Linked DNA regions of Homo sapiens: region 1 is linked to region 2. The links are contacts of gene promoters, found by promoter capture Hi-C in blood cells and fetal thymus (Javierre and others, 2016). All regions are on one chromosome and are shown on one strand. Each heading gives the region's core, a stretch centred on a gene start or on the middle of the fragment in contact. The rest is flanking DNA. Distances are from core to core; before and after follow the strand shown.

What was found. The method cuts DNA at HindIII sites, captures the fragments that hold promoters and counts their contacts. A CHiCAGO score of 5 or more calls a contact.
Region 1: a contact is called between a fragment that was not itself captured here and the fragment with the promoter of LINC03040 in region 2, in 1 of 17 cell types (erythroblasts). The highest score is 6.3, in erythroblasts.

What each region holds. Positions count from the first base shown.
Region 1 is chr6:43,611,824-43,617,027 of GRCh38, forward strand. It overlaps POLH (DNA polymerase eta), which reads left to right. Exons shown (of 11, transcript NM_006502.3): 11 at 1,837-5,204. The coding sequence ends at 2,734. Among named protein-coding and RNA genes, the nearest start is that of GTPBP2, 15 kb to the right of the region's middle. RefSeq lists a silencer at 138-363. The HindIII fragment of the contact is 623 bases long and covers 1,454-2,076 here.
Region 2 is chr6:43,997,211-44,002,749 of GRCh38, forward strand. It overlaps LINC03040 (long intergenic non-protein coding RNA 3040), which reads left to right and starts at 3,375. Exons shown (of 3, transcript NR_160956.1): 1 at 3,375-3,490; 2 at 4,843-4,917; 3 at 5,471-5,539. It overlaps SCIRT (stem cell inhibitory RNA transcript), which reads right to left. Exons shown (of 5, transcript NR_125864.1): 2 at 3,833-3,906; 3 at 3,381-3,505; 4 at 2,008-2,298; 5 at 1-98. LOC124901321 (a long non-coding RNA gene) reads left to right here. Exons shown (of 2, transcript XR_007059591.1): 2 at 1,741-2,344. RefSeq lists an enhancer at 3,482-3,631. The HindIII fragment of the contact is 11,725 bases long and covers 1,689-5,539 here.

The sequences.
Region 1 (5,204 bases), core at 515-3,014, 390 kb before region 2:
GGCAGGCAGATCACCTGAGGTCAGGAGTTCAAGAGCACCCCAGCCAACATGGTGAAACCCTGTCTCTACTAAAAATACAAAAATTAGCCAGGCATGGTGGTGGATGCCTATAATCCCAGCTACTTGGGAGGCTGAGGCAGGAGAATTGCTTGAACCTGGGAGGTGGAGGTTGCGGTGAGCCGAGATTGCGCCATTGCACTCCAGCCTGGGCAACAAGAGCGAAATTCCGTCTCCAACAACAACAACAACAAATAAATAAATAAATAAATAAAGTCTTTGTTCTGAGAATAATTTACTTAATACTTCCTGATATATTTATTTTCAAATATTGAAGTTTTACAAAACCAAATAACAACCGTGGTACTAATGTACACATGAAACCTTATTTGAAAAGTTATAAATTGACAAACTATAACAAATACTACTCACCAACGGTGTGAAACTCCGTGATGCACAGGGAAGCATCAAAATTATCTGATTATAAGACTGTCCCAAAGCATGAAACCTGAGGATATTGGGATACTTTTTTTTTTTTTTTTTGAGACGGAATCTCGCTCTTGTTGTCTAGGCTGGAGTGCAGTGACGCAATCTCGGCTCACTGCAACCTCTGCCTCCCGGGTTCAAGCGATTCTCCTGCCTCAGCCTCCTGAGTAGCTGGGATTACAGGTGCCCGCCACCACGCCCGGCTAAATTTTGTACTTTTAGTAGAGACAGGGTTTCTCCATGTTGGCCAGGCTGGTCTCAAATTCCTGACCTCAGGTGTTTCACCCACCTCGGCCTCCCAAAGTGCTGGGATTACAGGCGTGAGCCACTGCACCCGGCCAATAGTGTAATAATAACTTTAAAATGACATTTACCCTTTACCTCATTGAAGGACTAATCTGTACATAAAAGCATATTTCATCTTCTGAAATTCAGCTTATGTGAAAATTTGAGTGATTAGACACAATGAGGAACTTTATGACAAAAATTTCTGATTTTTTTTTTTTTTTTTTTGAGAGGGAGTCTGGCTCTGTCACCCAGGCTGGAGTGCAGTGGCGCAATCTCCGCTCACTGCAACCTCTGCCTCCCGGGTTCAAGCAATTCTTCTGCCTCAGCCTCCCAAGTAGCTGGGTTACAGGCGTGTGTCACCACACCCAGCTAATTTTTGTATTTTAGTAGAGATGGGGTTTCACCATGTTGGTCAGGCTGGTCTCATACTCCTGACCTCATGACCCACCCGCCTTAGCCTCCCAAAGTGCTGGGATTACAGGTGTGAGCCACCGCTCCCGGCTATCACAAGAATTTCTTAAAATGTTTCTGAAATTGGGACTAGTAACGAAAAGCAGTTGTGGAATTTCATTCTCTAGAAATTCCAGAGTGGTAAGTCAGTCAGGGTTAGGTAGTGCCCTGTTTAAAAACAGGATAATGGCTAAGAGGATTTTTTCAAGTCTTTCTAGTCTAAATATTCTAAAGCTTTTTGTTGTCCTGAATAAAATTTCTTGCCCCAACCCTGAATTACAGCAGCTTTCCAGTGGTACCTTATAAAAAACAATAATCTCTAGCTGTCGGGAGGTGAGTGGTTGCTAAATTAGTGGTTCTCAAGACATAACATCAGCATCACCTAGGAAATTAAATTCTCTGTCATCCCAGGTCTGTTAATCTCTGATACACATTAACGTTTGAGAACCACTGCAGTAAAGAATAATTTCTGTGGCAGAACCAGAATGCTAGTCATCTATGGATTAAATCTGTCCTATGGTGAAATAAAACAGATACAATTCATGGAATTAGCAATAGGTCACTATTTTAATCTTCTAAATTGCTAATCATCTTATTTCTTTACTTTCTGTATAGGTCTCCTCCTCTCACAATGCTTTTCCTCTGTGCTACAAAATTTTCTGCCTCTGCCCCTTCATCTTCTACAGACATCACCAGCTTCTTGAGCAGTGACCCAAGTTCTCTGCCAAAGGTGCCAGTTACCAGCTCAGAAGCTAAGACCCAGGGAAGTGGCCCAGCGGTGACAGCCACTAAGAAAGCAACCACGTCTCTGGAATCATTCTTCCAAAAAGCTGCAGAAAGGCAGAAAGTTAAAGAAGCTTCGCTTTCATCTCTTACTGCTCCCACTCAGGCTCCCATGAGCAATTCACCATCCAAGCCCTCATTACCTTTTCAAACCAGTCAAAGTACAGGAACTGAGCCCTTCTTTAAGCAGAAAAGTCTGCTTCTAAAGCAGAAACAGCTTAATAATTCTTCAGTTTCTTCCCCCCAACAAAACCCATGGTCCAACTGTAAAGCATTACCAAACTCTTTACCAACAGAGTATCCAGGGTGTGTCCCTGTTTGTGAAGGGGTGTCGAAGCTAGAAGAATCCTCTAAAGCAACTCCTGCAGAGATGGATTTGGCCCACAACAGCCAAAGCATGCACGCCTCTTCAGCTTCCAAATCTGTGCTGGAGGTGACTCAGAAAGCAACCCCAAATCCAAGTCTTCTAGCTGCTGAGGACCAAGTGCCCTGTGAGAAGTGTGGCTCCCTGGTACCGGTATGGGATATGCCAGAACACATGGACTATCATTTTGCATTGGAGTTGCAGAAATCCTTTTTGCAGCCCCACTCTTCAAACCCCCAGGTTGTTTCTGCCGTATCTCATCAAGGCAAAAGAAATCCCAAGAGCCCTTTGGCCTGCACTAATAAACGCCCCAGGCCTGAGGGCATGCAAACATTGGAATCATTTTTTAAGCCATTAACACATTAGTGCTGCCCTCAGGCTTGCCTGTAGGATTTAATATTTTTTATCTTTACAGATCTTTATCTTTAATATTTTATCTTTACAGATTTCCCTGAGAAAGGGAATTATGAAATTTTTAATACAAAAAATAATCCATTTAGGTGCTGAGTTACGGTCCCATCTCTTCACAGGCATGGATTCTAATCCCACTGCTGACAGAGATGTAAAAATTCATCCTACCAGAGTTTTTAATCTTTAGCATTTAGGGAGGCAGTGTCATAAAGTAAAAAGTGTGTGGGCCTTGGAGTCTAAGAGACGTGGTTGCAAACTTAGCTCTGGTTATTGCAATGAGGGCCTTGAACAAGTCATTTTCTTCACATTCTCATCTGTAAAATGGAGATAATACCTTACAGATTATTGCAGATTAATAACAATGTATTCAAATTATGTAACTCGGCCGGGTACAATGGCTCACGCCTGTAATCCTAACACTTTGGGAGGCCGAGGCAGACAGATCACCTGAGGTCAGGAGTTTGAGACCAGCCTGGCCAACATGGCAAAACCATCTCTACTAAAAATAGAAAAATTAGCCAGGCACGTTCCAGGCACCTGTGATCCCAGCTACTTAGAGGCTGAGGCAGAAGAATTGCTTTAACCTTGGAGGCGGAGGTTGCATTGAGCTGAGATCATGCTAGTGCGCTCCAGCCTGGGCAACAGAGCGAGACTTCATCTCAGAAAATAAAAAATAGGGGCCAGGCACAGTGGCTCATACCTGTAATGCCAGCACTTTGGGAGGCCAAGGCGGGCAGATCACGAGGTCAGGAGTTTCAGACCAATATGGTGAAACCCCATCTCTACTAAAATTACAAAAAAAATTATCCAGGCGTGGTGGTGCACGCCTGTAATCCCAGCTACTCAGGAGGCTAAGGCAGGAGAATCACTTGAACCCAGGAGGCAGAGGTTGGAGTGAGCTGAGATCGCGCCACCGCACTCCAGCCTGGGCAACAGAGCGAGACTCCATCTCAAACAAAAACAAGAACAAAAACAAACATAAAGTTGGCACAGAAAAGGGACCAAGTTTAAAAAAGGGTTTTAAATGTAATGAGACTTGCATAGTTAAAAAAAAAAAAGGGATTATTTTTATTTTTATTTTTTATTTTTGAGACGGAGTCTCCCTCTGTCGTCAGGCTAGAATGCAGTGGTGCGTTCTCAGCTCACCGCAACCTCCGTCTCCTGGGTTCAAGCAATTCTCCTGCCTCAGCCTCCCAAGTAGCTGGGACTACAGGCACGTGCTACCACACTCAGCTAATTTTTGTATTTTTAATAGAGATGAGGTTTCACCATGTTGGCCAGGATGGTCTCGATTGCTTGACCTCATGATCCGCCTGCCTCGACCTCCCAAAGTTGCTGGGATTACAGATGTTAGCCACCGATCCTGGCCCCCCCAAAAAAAGGATTTTAAGAAAAACTTCTCTTGGCCGGGCGCAGTGGCTCACGCCTGCAATCCCAGCACTTTGGGAGGCCGAGGCGGGCGGATCACAAGGTCAGGAGATCGAGACCACGGTGAAACCCCGTCTCTACTAAAAAATACAAAAAAAAATTAGCCGGGTGCGGTGGCAGGCGCCTGTAGTCCCAGCTACTCGGGAGGCTGAGGCAGGAGAATGGTGTGAACCCGGGAGGCGGAGCTTGCAGTGAGCCGAGAGCGCGCCACTGCACTCCAGCCTGGGTGACAGAGCGAGACTCCGTCTCAAAAAAAAAAAAAAAAGAAAAACTTCTCTTTAGGCTGGGTGCGGTTCCTCATGCCTATAATCCCAGCATTTAGGGAGGCTGAGGTGAGTGGATTGCAGGAGCTCAGGAGTTCGAGACCAGCCTGGGCAAGGTGGCAAAACCCCGTCTCTACTAAAAAAAATTAGCTGGGCTTGGTGGCAGGCGCCTGTAATCCCAGGTACTCGGGAGACTGAGGCAGGAGAATTGCTTGAACCTGGAAGGTGGAGGTTGCAGTGAGTTGAGATCACACCAATGCACTCCAGCCAGGGTGAGAGTGAGAGACTGTCTCAAAAAAAAAAAAAACAAAAGAAAAACTTCTCTCTAGCTCTGTGACGGGCAGTTCAGATAATACCTTCACCAGATTTACCTGTTTTCAGCTGAAGAATGTGAGATGAAGCCTTGAAACCCTAAAAGTGATATGGTAACTAGGGCAGGTCTTTCTGTACATAAAAGTGACTTAATAAACAGTGAATTTCATACAGGTAAACCCTATTATACCCTCAGTTCTAACCATTGGCCTATCTCTTGCGTTTTGTTCTAATGTAGAATTAGATTGCTACTTGACTAGTTCAGGAACTCTGTTTAGATCTGATAAGTCATAATCAAATCTTGCCAGGCGTGGTGGTTTATGCCTGTTATCCCAGCACTTTGGGAGGCCAAGGCAGGTGGACCACGTGAAGTCAGGAGTTCAAGACAAGCATGGCCAACATGGCGAAACCCTGTATCTACT
Region 2 (5,539 bases), core at 2,125-4,624:
GGACGGTGGCAACAGGTTGAAGAGGTGCTTGGGGCCAGCCAGGTGAGCAGGCAGGCCTTGCCTCATGAATCTGGAAGAGTAGCTGGTGGATACAGACTCTGAGAAACAAGGACAAGGATGTTTGTTGAGCTGGGATACAGGCTGGTAGGCCCAGGCAGTAGCTCCTGACAGCAGTGCCTGTTCCCAGGTCTTCTTTCAGGAATATTCCTAGAAACCCTCTCCACCCATGCTCCTGACCCTTGCATCCCATTTGCCTGGACAGAGAGGCACTGCCTGACTCCTCCCTTCCCAGGAATAAAAGTCAGCACTCAGTTACCTGTTGTGCCAGCCAGGTAGGGGCGGGGCAGGTAGCCAGTCCTTCCCTAGACCCACCCCCAGCCTAGTCCAAAGTAGCACCCAATCACCCATCCCTATGCCCTGCCATGCCTCTCAACTTGTATCTTGCACCTTGGCTGGGGCTGGACCCCAGAAATCAAAGAAAAACGGGGGGAGCATGTAGCAGTCAGGTAAGGTCCAGAATGAGGGCTTCTTATCTCCCTAGGGCAGCTCTCTTAGGCAAGCCCACCATCAAGCGACAGGATATTGGGAAGGTCTCCTCATAGTAATGTCAACTCAGGGCCTGCTCTGAGCCGGGTTATCTCATTTAAATTTCACAATCAGGCCAGGTGTGGTGGCTTTTGCCTATAAGCCCAGTATTTTGGGGGAGTGAGAGGTGACAGGGTGCTGGCAGTCCTCACAGCCCTCGCTCACTCTCGGCGCCTCCTCTGCCTGGGCTCCCACTTTGGCCACACTTGAGGAGCCCTTCAGCCCGCCGCTGCACTGTGGAAGCCCCTTTCTGGGCTGGCCAAGGCCGGAGCCGGCTCCCTCAGCTTGCGAGGAAGTGTGGAGGGAGAGGGGCGGGCGGGAACCGGGGCTGCGCGCGGTGCTTGCGGGCCAGCGCAAGTTCCGGGTGGGCGTGGGCTCGGCAGACCCCGCACTCGGAGCAGCCCGCCAGGCCCCACCGGCCCTGGGCAGTGAGGGGCTTAGCACCTGGGCCAGCAGCTGCTGTGCTCAATTTCTCCCCGGGCCTTAGCTGCCTTCCCGCGGGGCAGGGCTCGGGACCTGCAGCCTGCCATGCCTGAGACTCCTCCTGGCTCCGTGGGCTCCTGTGCGGCCAGAGCCTCCCCGACGAGCGCCACCCCCTGCTCCATGGCGCCCAGTCCCATCCACCACCCAAGGGCTGAGGAGTGCGGGCGCACAGCGCCGGACTGGCAGGCAGCTCCACCTGCAGCCCTGGTGCAGGATCCACTGGGTGTAGCCAGCTGGGCTCCTGAGTCTGGTGGGGACGTGGAGAACCTTTATGTCTAGCTCAGGGATTGTAAATACACCAATTGGCACTCTGTATCTAGCTCAAGGTTTGTAAACACACCAATCAGCACTGTGAATGCACCAATCGACACTGTATCTAGCTACTCTGGTGGGGACTTGGAGAACCTTTGTGTCAACACTCTGTATCTAGCTAATCTAGTGGGGACATGGTGAACCTTTGTGTCTAGCTCGGATTGTAAACGCACCAATCAGCACCCTGTCAAAACAGACCACTGGGCTCTACCAATCAGCAGGATGTGGGTGGGGCCAGATAAGAGAATAAAAGCAGGCTGCCCCAGCCCGCAGTGGCAACCCGCTGGGATCCCTTTCCACGCTGTGGAAGCTTTGTTCTTTTGCTCTTTGCAATAAATCTTGCTACTGCTCACTCTGTAGGTCCACGCTGCCTTTATGAGCTGTAACACTCACCGCGAAGGTCTGCAGCTTCACTCCTGAAGCCAGCGAGACTACGAGCCCACCGGGAGGAACAGACAACTCCAGACGCGCCGCCCTAAGAACTGTAACACTCACCGCGAAGGTCTGCAGCTTCACCCCTAAGCCAGCGAGACCACGAACCCACCAGAAGGAAGAAACTCTGAACACATCTGAACATCAGAAGGAACAAACTCTGGACACGCTGTCTTTAAGAACTGTAACACTCACCGCGAGGGTCCGCGGCTTCATTCTTGAAGTCAGTGAGACCAAGAACCCACCAATTCCGGACACAGGAGGATCGCTTGAGCCCAGGAATTCAAGACCAGCCTGGGCAACCCAGCAACACTCCATCTCTACAGAAGTTGTAAAATTAGCTGGGCGTGATGGGGCGCATCTGTAGTCCTAGCTACTTATCCTAGCCTTGGCGAGAGGATCACTTGAGCCCAGGAGGTTAAGGCTGCAGTGAGCCATGATTGCACCACTGCACTCCAGCCGGGGTAACAAAGTCAGACCGTGTCTCTAAAAATAAATAAATAAATAAAAATAAAATAAATTTGACAACCAAGTTTAAATGGTGTTCTCATTATTCCCATTTTACAGATGCAGTCACTGGGGCCCCCAAGAAGTTAAGTGATCTGCCTAAGATCACATGCCTTTGTTTATATGTGTTGGAATTTTTCAATTCTCTCTGGAAATCCACATCCTCCACCCCCAACCCAGACTCCAACACAACTGCTTCCACCACGGCCCACCTGCGTACCCCACACATATCCCTGAAGTGCAGACTTCCTCCCATCCTTCCCCAGGAAGATTCCCTGGTCTGTGGGGTAGCGAGTGTTGGGGTGGTCTCTCCTTCCCTCCCATGCTTCTAGATTCCTCTGTAGGGTCCCGGTTTTGTTTTTGGTGTGGCAGCAAGCTCACTGCCTTTTTGAGTACTGTATGTCAGTGAGTTTGCATGCACACACCTGGAGGAGGGATGTGTGGGCATGAGAGGTATCTGGGCAAGTGGGCTTACTTGCCCACCTGGGGCACATGTGGGTACAGTGCAGTGGAGCATACATTGCCTAGATTGTAACCGTGTGTGTGCCTAGACACAGGCAAATGAGCCCATGTGGGTGTTCATGAAGGGCCTGCCCCCTGCATGTTTGGGGGTCTGTAGAATGAGTCCCCATTTCTCTCCCCTTCCCAAATAACTGCCACCATCTTCAGTTCAGACTCCTGGGCCCCAGGTAAGGGGCTGGTGAAAACCGCCTGTGACTGGGGACAGAGACACCTGAGTCTTAAGCCCCACCCAGGCTGCTAGTGCCCTTGAGCAGGCATCACCCCACCCAGGCAGCGGGAGTGTCCTCACCCAATGGGATAGGGTGACATGGGGGAGGAGGTTTGAAGCGGGGAGAAGGCAGCGAGGCTTTCAGCTCCCTAGATGGGAGGCTCATTACCCTAGCACTCAGTAGGTTGTAGGGAAGGGGGACTGAGCCAGGACTTGGCACTGACTACAAAGGGTAGGGGCAGCCCCCAGCACTCCCGCCGCGGCAGGCCAGGGGAGGGGCTGTGACGTTTGGTGGCCTCATGCAGCTGAGAGGAAGTAGCTAATTGCCAACCTGATGACTGGCGGCTGAGGAGTGGGGTGATGATGCCACTGGCAGAAGCAGGCGCCCTGGCCCAAGGAGGAGGCCCTTCAGCAACGGAGTGGGCCTGCATTCTGCGGAGGGTGAGACTGAGGTGGCTGCAGTCAAAGGAGAAGGGGGCAGGGGTTTGTTGAGGCTGTGACCGTGGGAAAGCGCTTCTCCAGGGCTTCCCTCAGCTTCAAGGAGAAAGAGTTCAGAGGCCCTGAGGGGATGAAGGGACTTGTGAAGGGGCTTCAGGGGGATGGGTTGGGGGGAAGGAGGTTCCTATTCTTACTCCCCTTCTGCCTATGCTCCCCCAATGTTCCTGTCTCTCCCCTCCCCCACCTTGGCCCCCTCTTTGGCCCCTGTGGCCAAAGTTGTTGAGGAAGGAGGGAGTAGATGGAGGGCTCTTTTCACCAGAAGACCCCCAGGCACAAGCAGCCCACCTTACTGATGGTCAGAGCATCCAGAAGAAGTGGCAAGACTTCAGCTGTCCTCAAAGCAGGAAGACAGAGTGTTTCTGGCAGAAAGAACAGCACAAGCAAAGGTTAGGCAGTGGGGTCTGGAGAGGCTGGTGGAGGACTGGGGCTTGGCTTCAATGGTTATGAGAGGAGGTGGGCAGGATGTTCTGTACCAAGGGCCACACTGTCCCTTCCTGGAAGAAACAGTGGGTACCCAGCACCCAGAGCTTCTCCCACATGCTGGCCACCGCCTCTGGCCCCAGTAGACCTGGCCCTCAACTGCCTCAGCAAGCCTCACAGGTTGGGGACCCCACCCTCATTATTCTCAAGTGCATCAACCCCGAAGGACTGAAGCCCCGAGTCCCAATAAACAGGTCCCATCCATCCGTAGGCCAGTCCGCTGGGCCCCTAGCACCCCCTATGGGCAGGAAGCAACACTAATGGAGGAGGAGCCTCCAGCAGCCTGGGGTGGGGTGGGGGTGGGAGAGTGAGACGTGAGGGAGGAGAGAGACTTGCCCTCTAGGAAGCGGACAGACCATGCCTCAGGAAACCCCAGTGTCACAGGTCACAGACACTGACCTTGAAGCGTTACTCTCATGGGTGAAATTTAGCCCCTGTCCTCAGGAAGCTCCCAGTCTGACGGGGGACACATATAGTGCTCTCAGAGCTGCCTTCTTTAGGGTGAAACTCAGTATCTGGGCTTCAGGAAACTCCCAGTGTAAGGGGAGAGACACGACCCTGCCCTTAGGGATCTCTCAAATGAGGCATACCCACTGGACTTTCGGGAACCATCAATCTGTTTCCAGACATGGATTAGAGATTTCAATGCCTCAAGGGCTGCCAGGAAAAAAAATACAAGACGTCCAATTAAATTGAATATCAGATAAACAACGAATAATATTTTAGCATAAGTCTGTCCCATACAATATTTGGGACAGACTTACACTATTTAAAGTATCCAGTTTAACTGGAAGTCTTGTGTTTTTATTTGCCAGATCTGGTAACCCTAGGTGCCTCCAGTTTGAGGGAGGAGAGAGGACACCCCCTCCACCCCAGACATAGGAAAGCAGGTAAACACCTCAGCGTGCTCCGGAGGGCAGGGGTGGGGCAGGAGGAGAGTCCTGGGGCTCCGGCTCGCGGCAGTTTAAAATTCCTTCCAGGCCAGAGCCCTAATCCCTCGGTGCACAATGGCCGCCTTCTCCCCCGCCGCCCGCGCCCACGCCCTCCCCCGCGGGGCCGTGGCAGTGCCACCAAGGGCCTCTTTAAGCCCCTTTGAAGCCGCGGAGCCCCGCGCCGCAGGAGGCCCCGCCGCTATGCCAGCTATGCCAGCTATGTCCCTGCTGCCGCCGGCCGCCACCGCTCCCCCATTAATGCTGGCTAATCTGGCTAATAAATAAACTCCCCTCCCAGCCCCAGCCCCGCGCCGACTCCTCCCCGCCCCCGCAGAATCGATGTCAGGGCTCGACTAGAGCAAGCGCCCGCACTCCACCCCACTCCCTCGAGATGTAGCTGACGTTTTTTCTTATGGCTGCCCTAGGTCTGTAGCCCGTCGGGGATTCTCGGGGAGACGTGGGATTTGGGAGGTCTCCGCCTAGCCACTGCGTTTGCCTTCCTCTTTTCCAGTCCACCTGCGCACCAGGGGCAGGACACGTGGCTGGGTGCAGACGCTGGCCCGGATGTCGCGGAGGACTC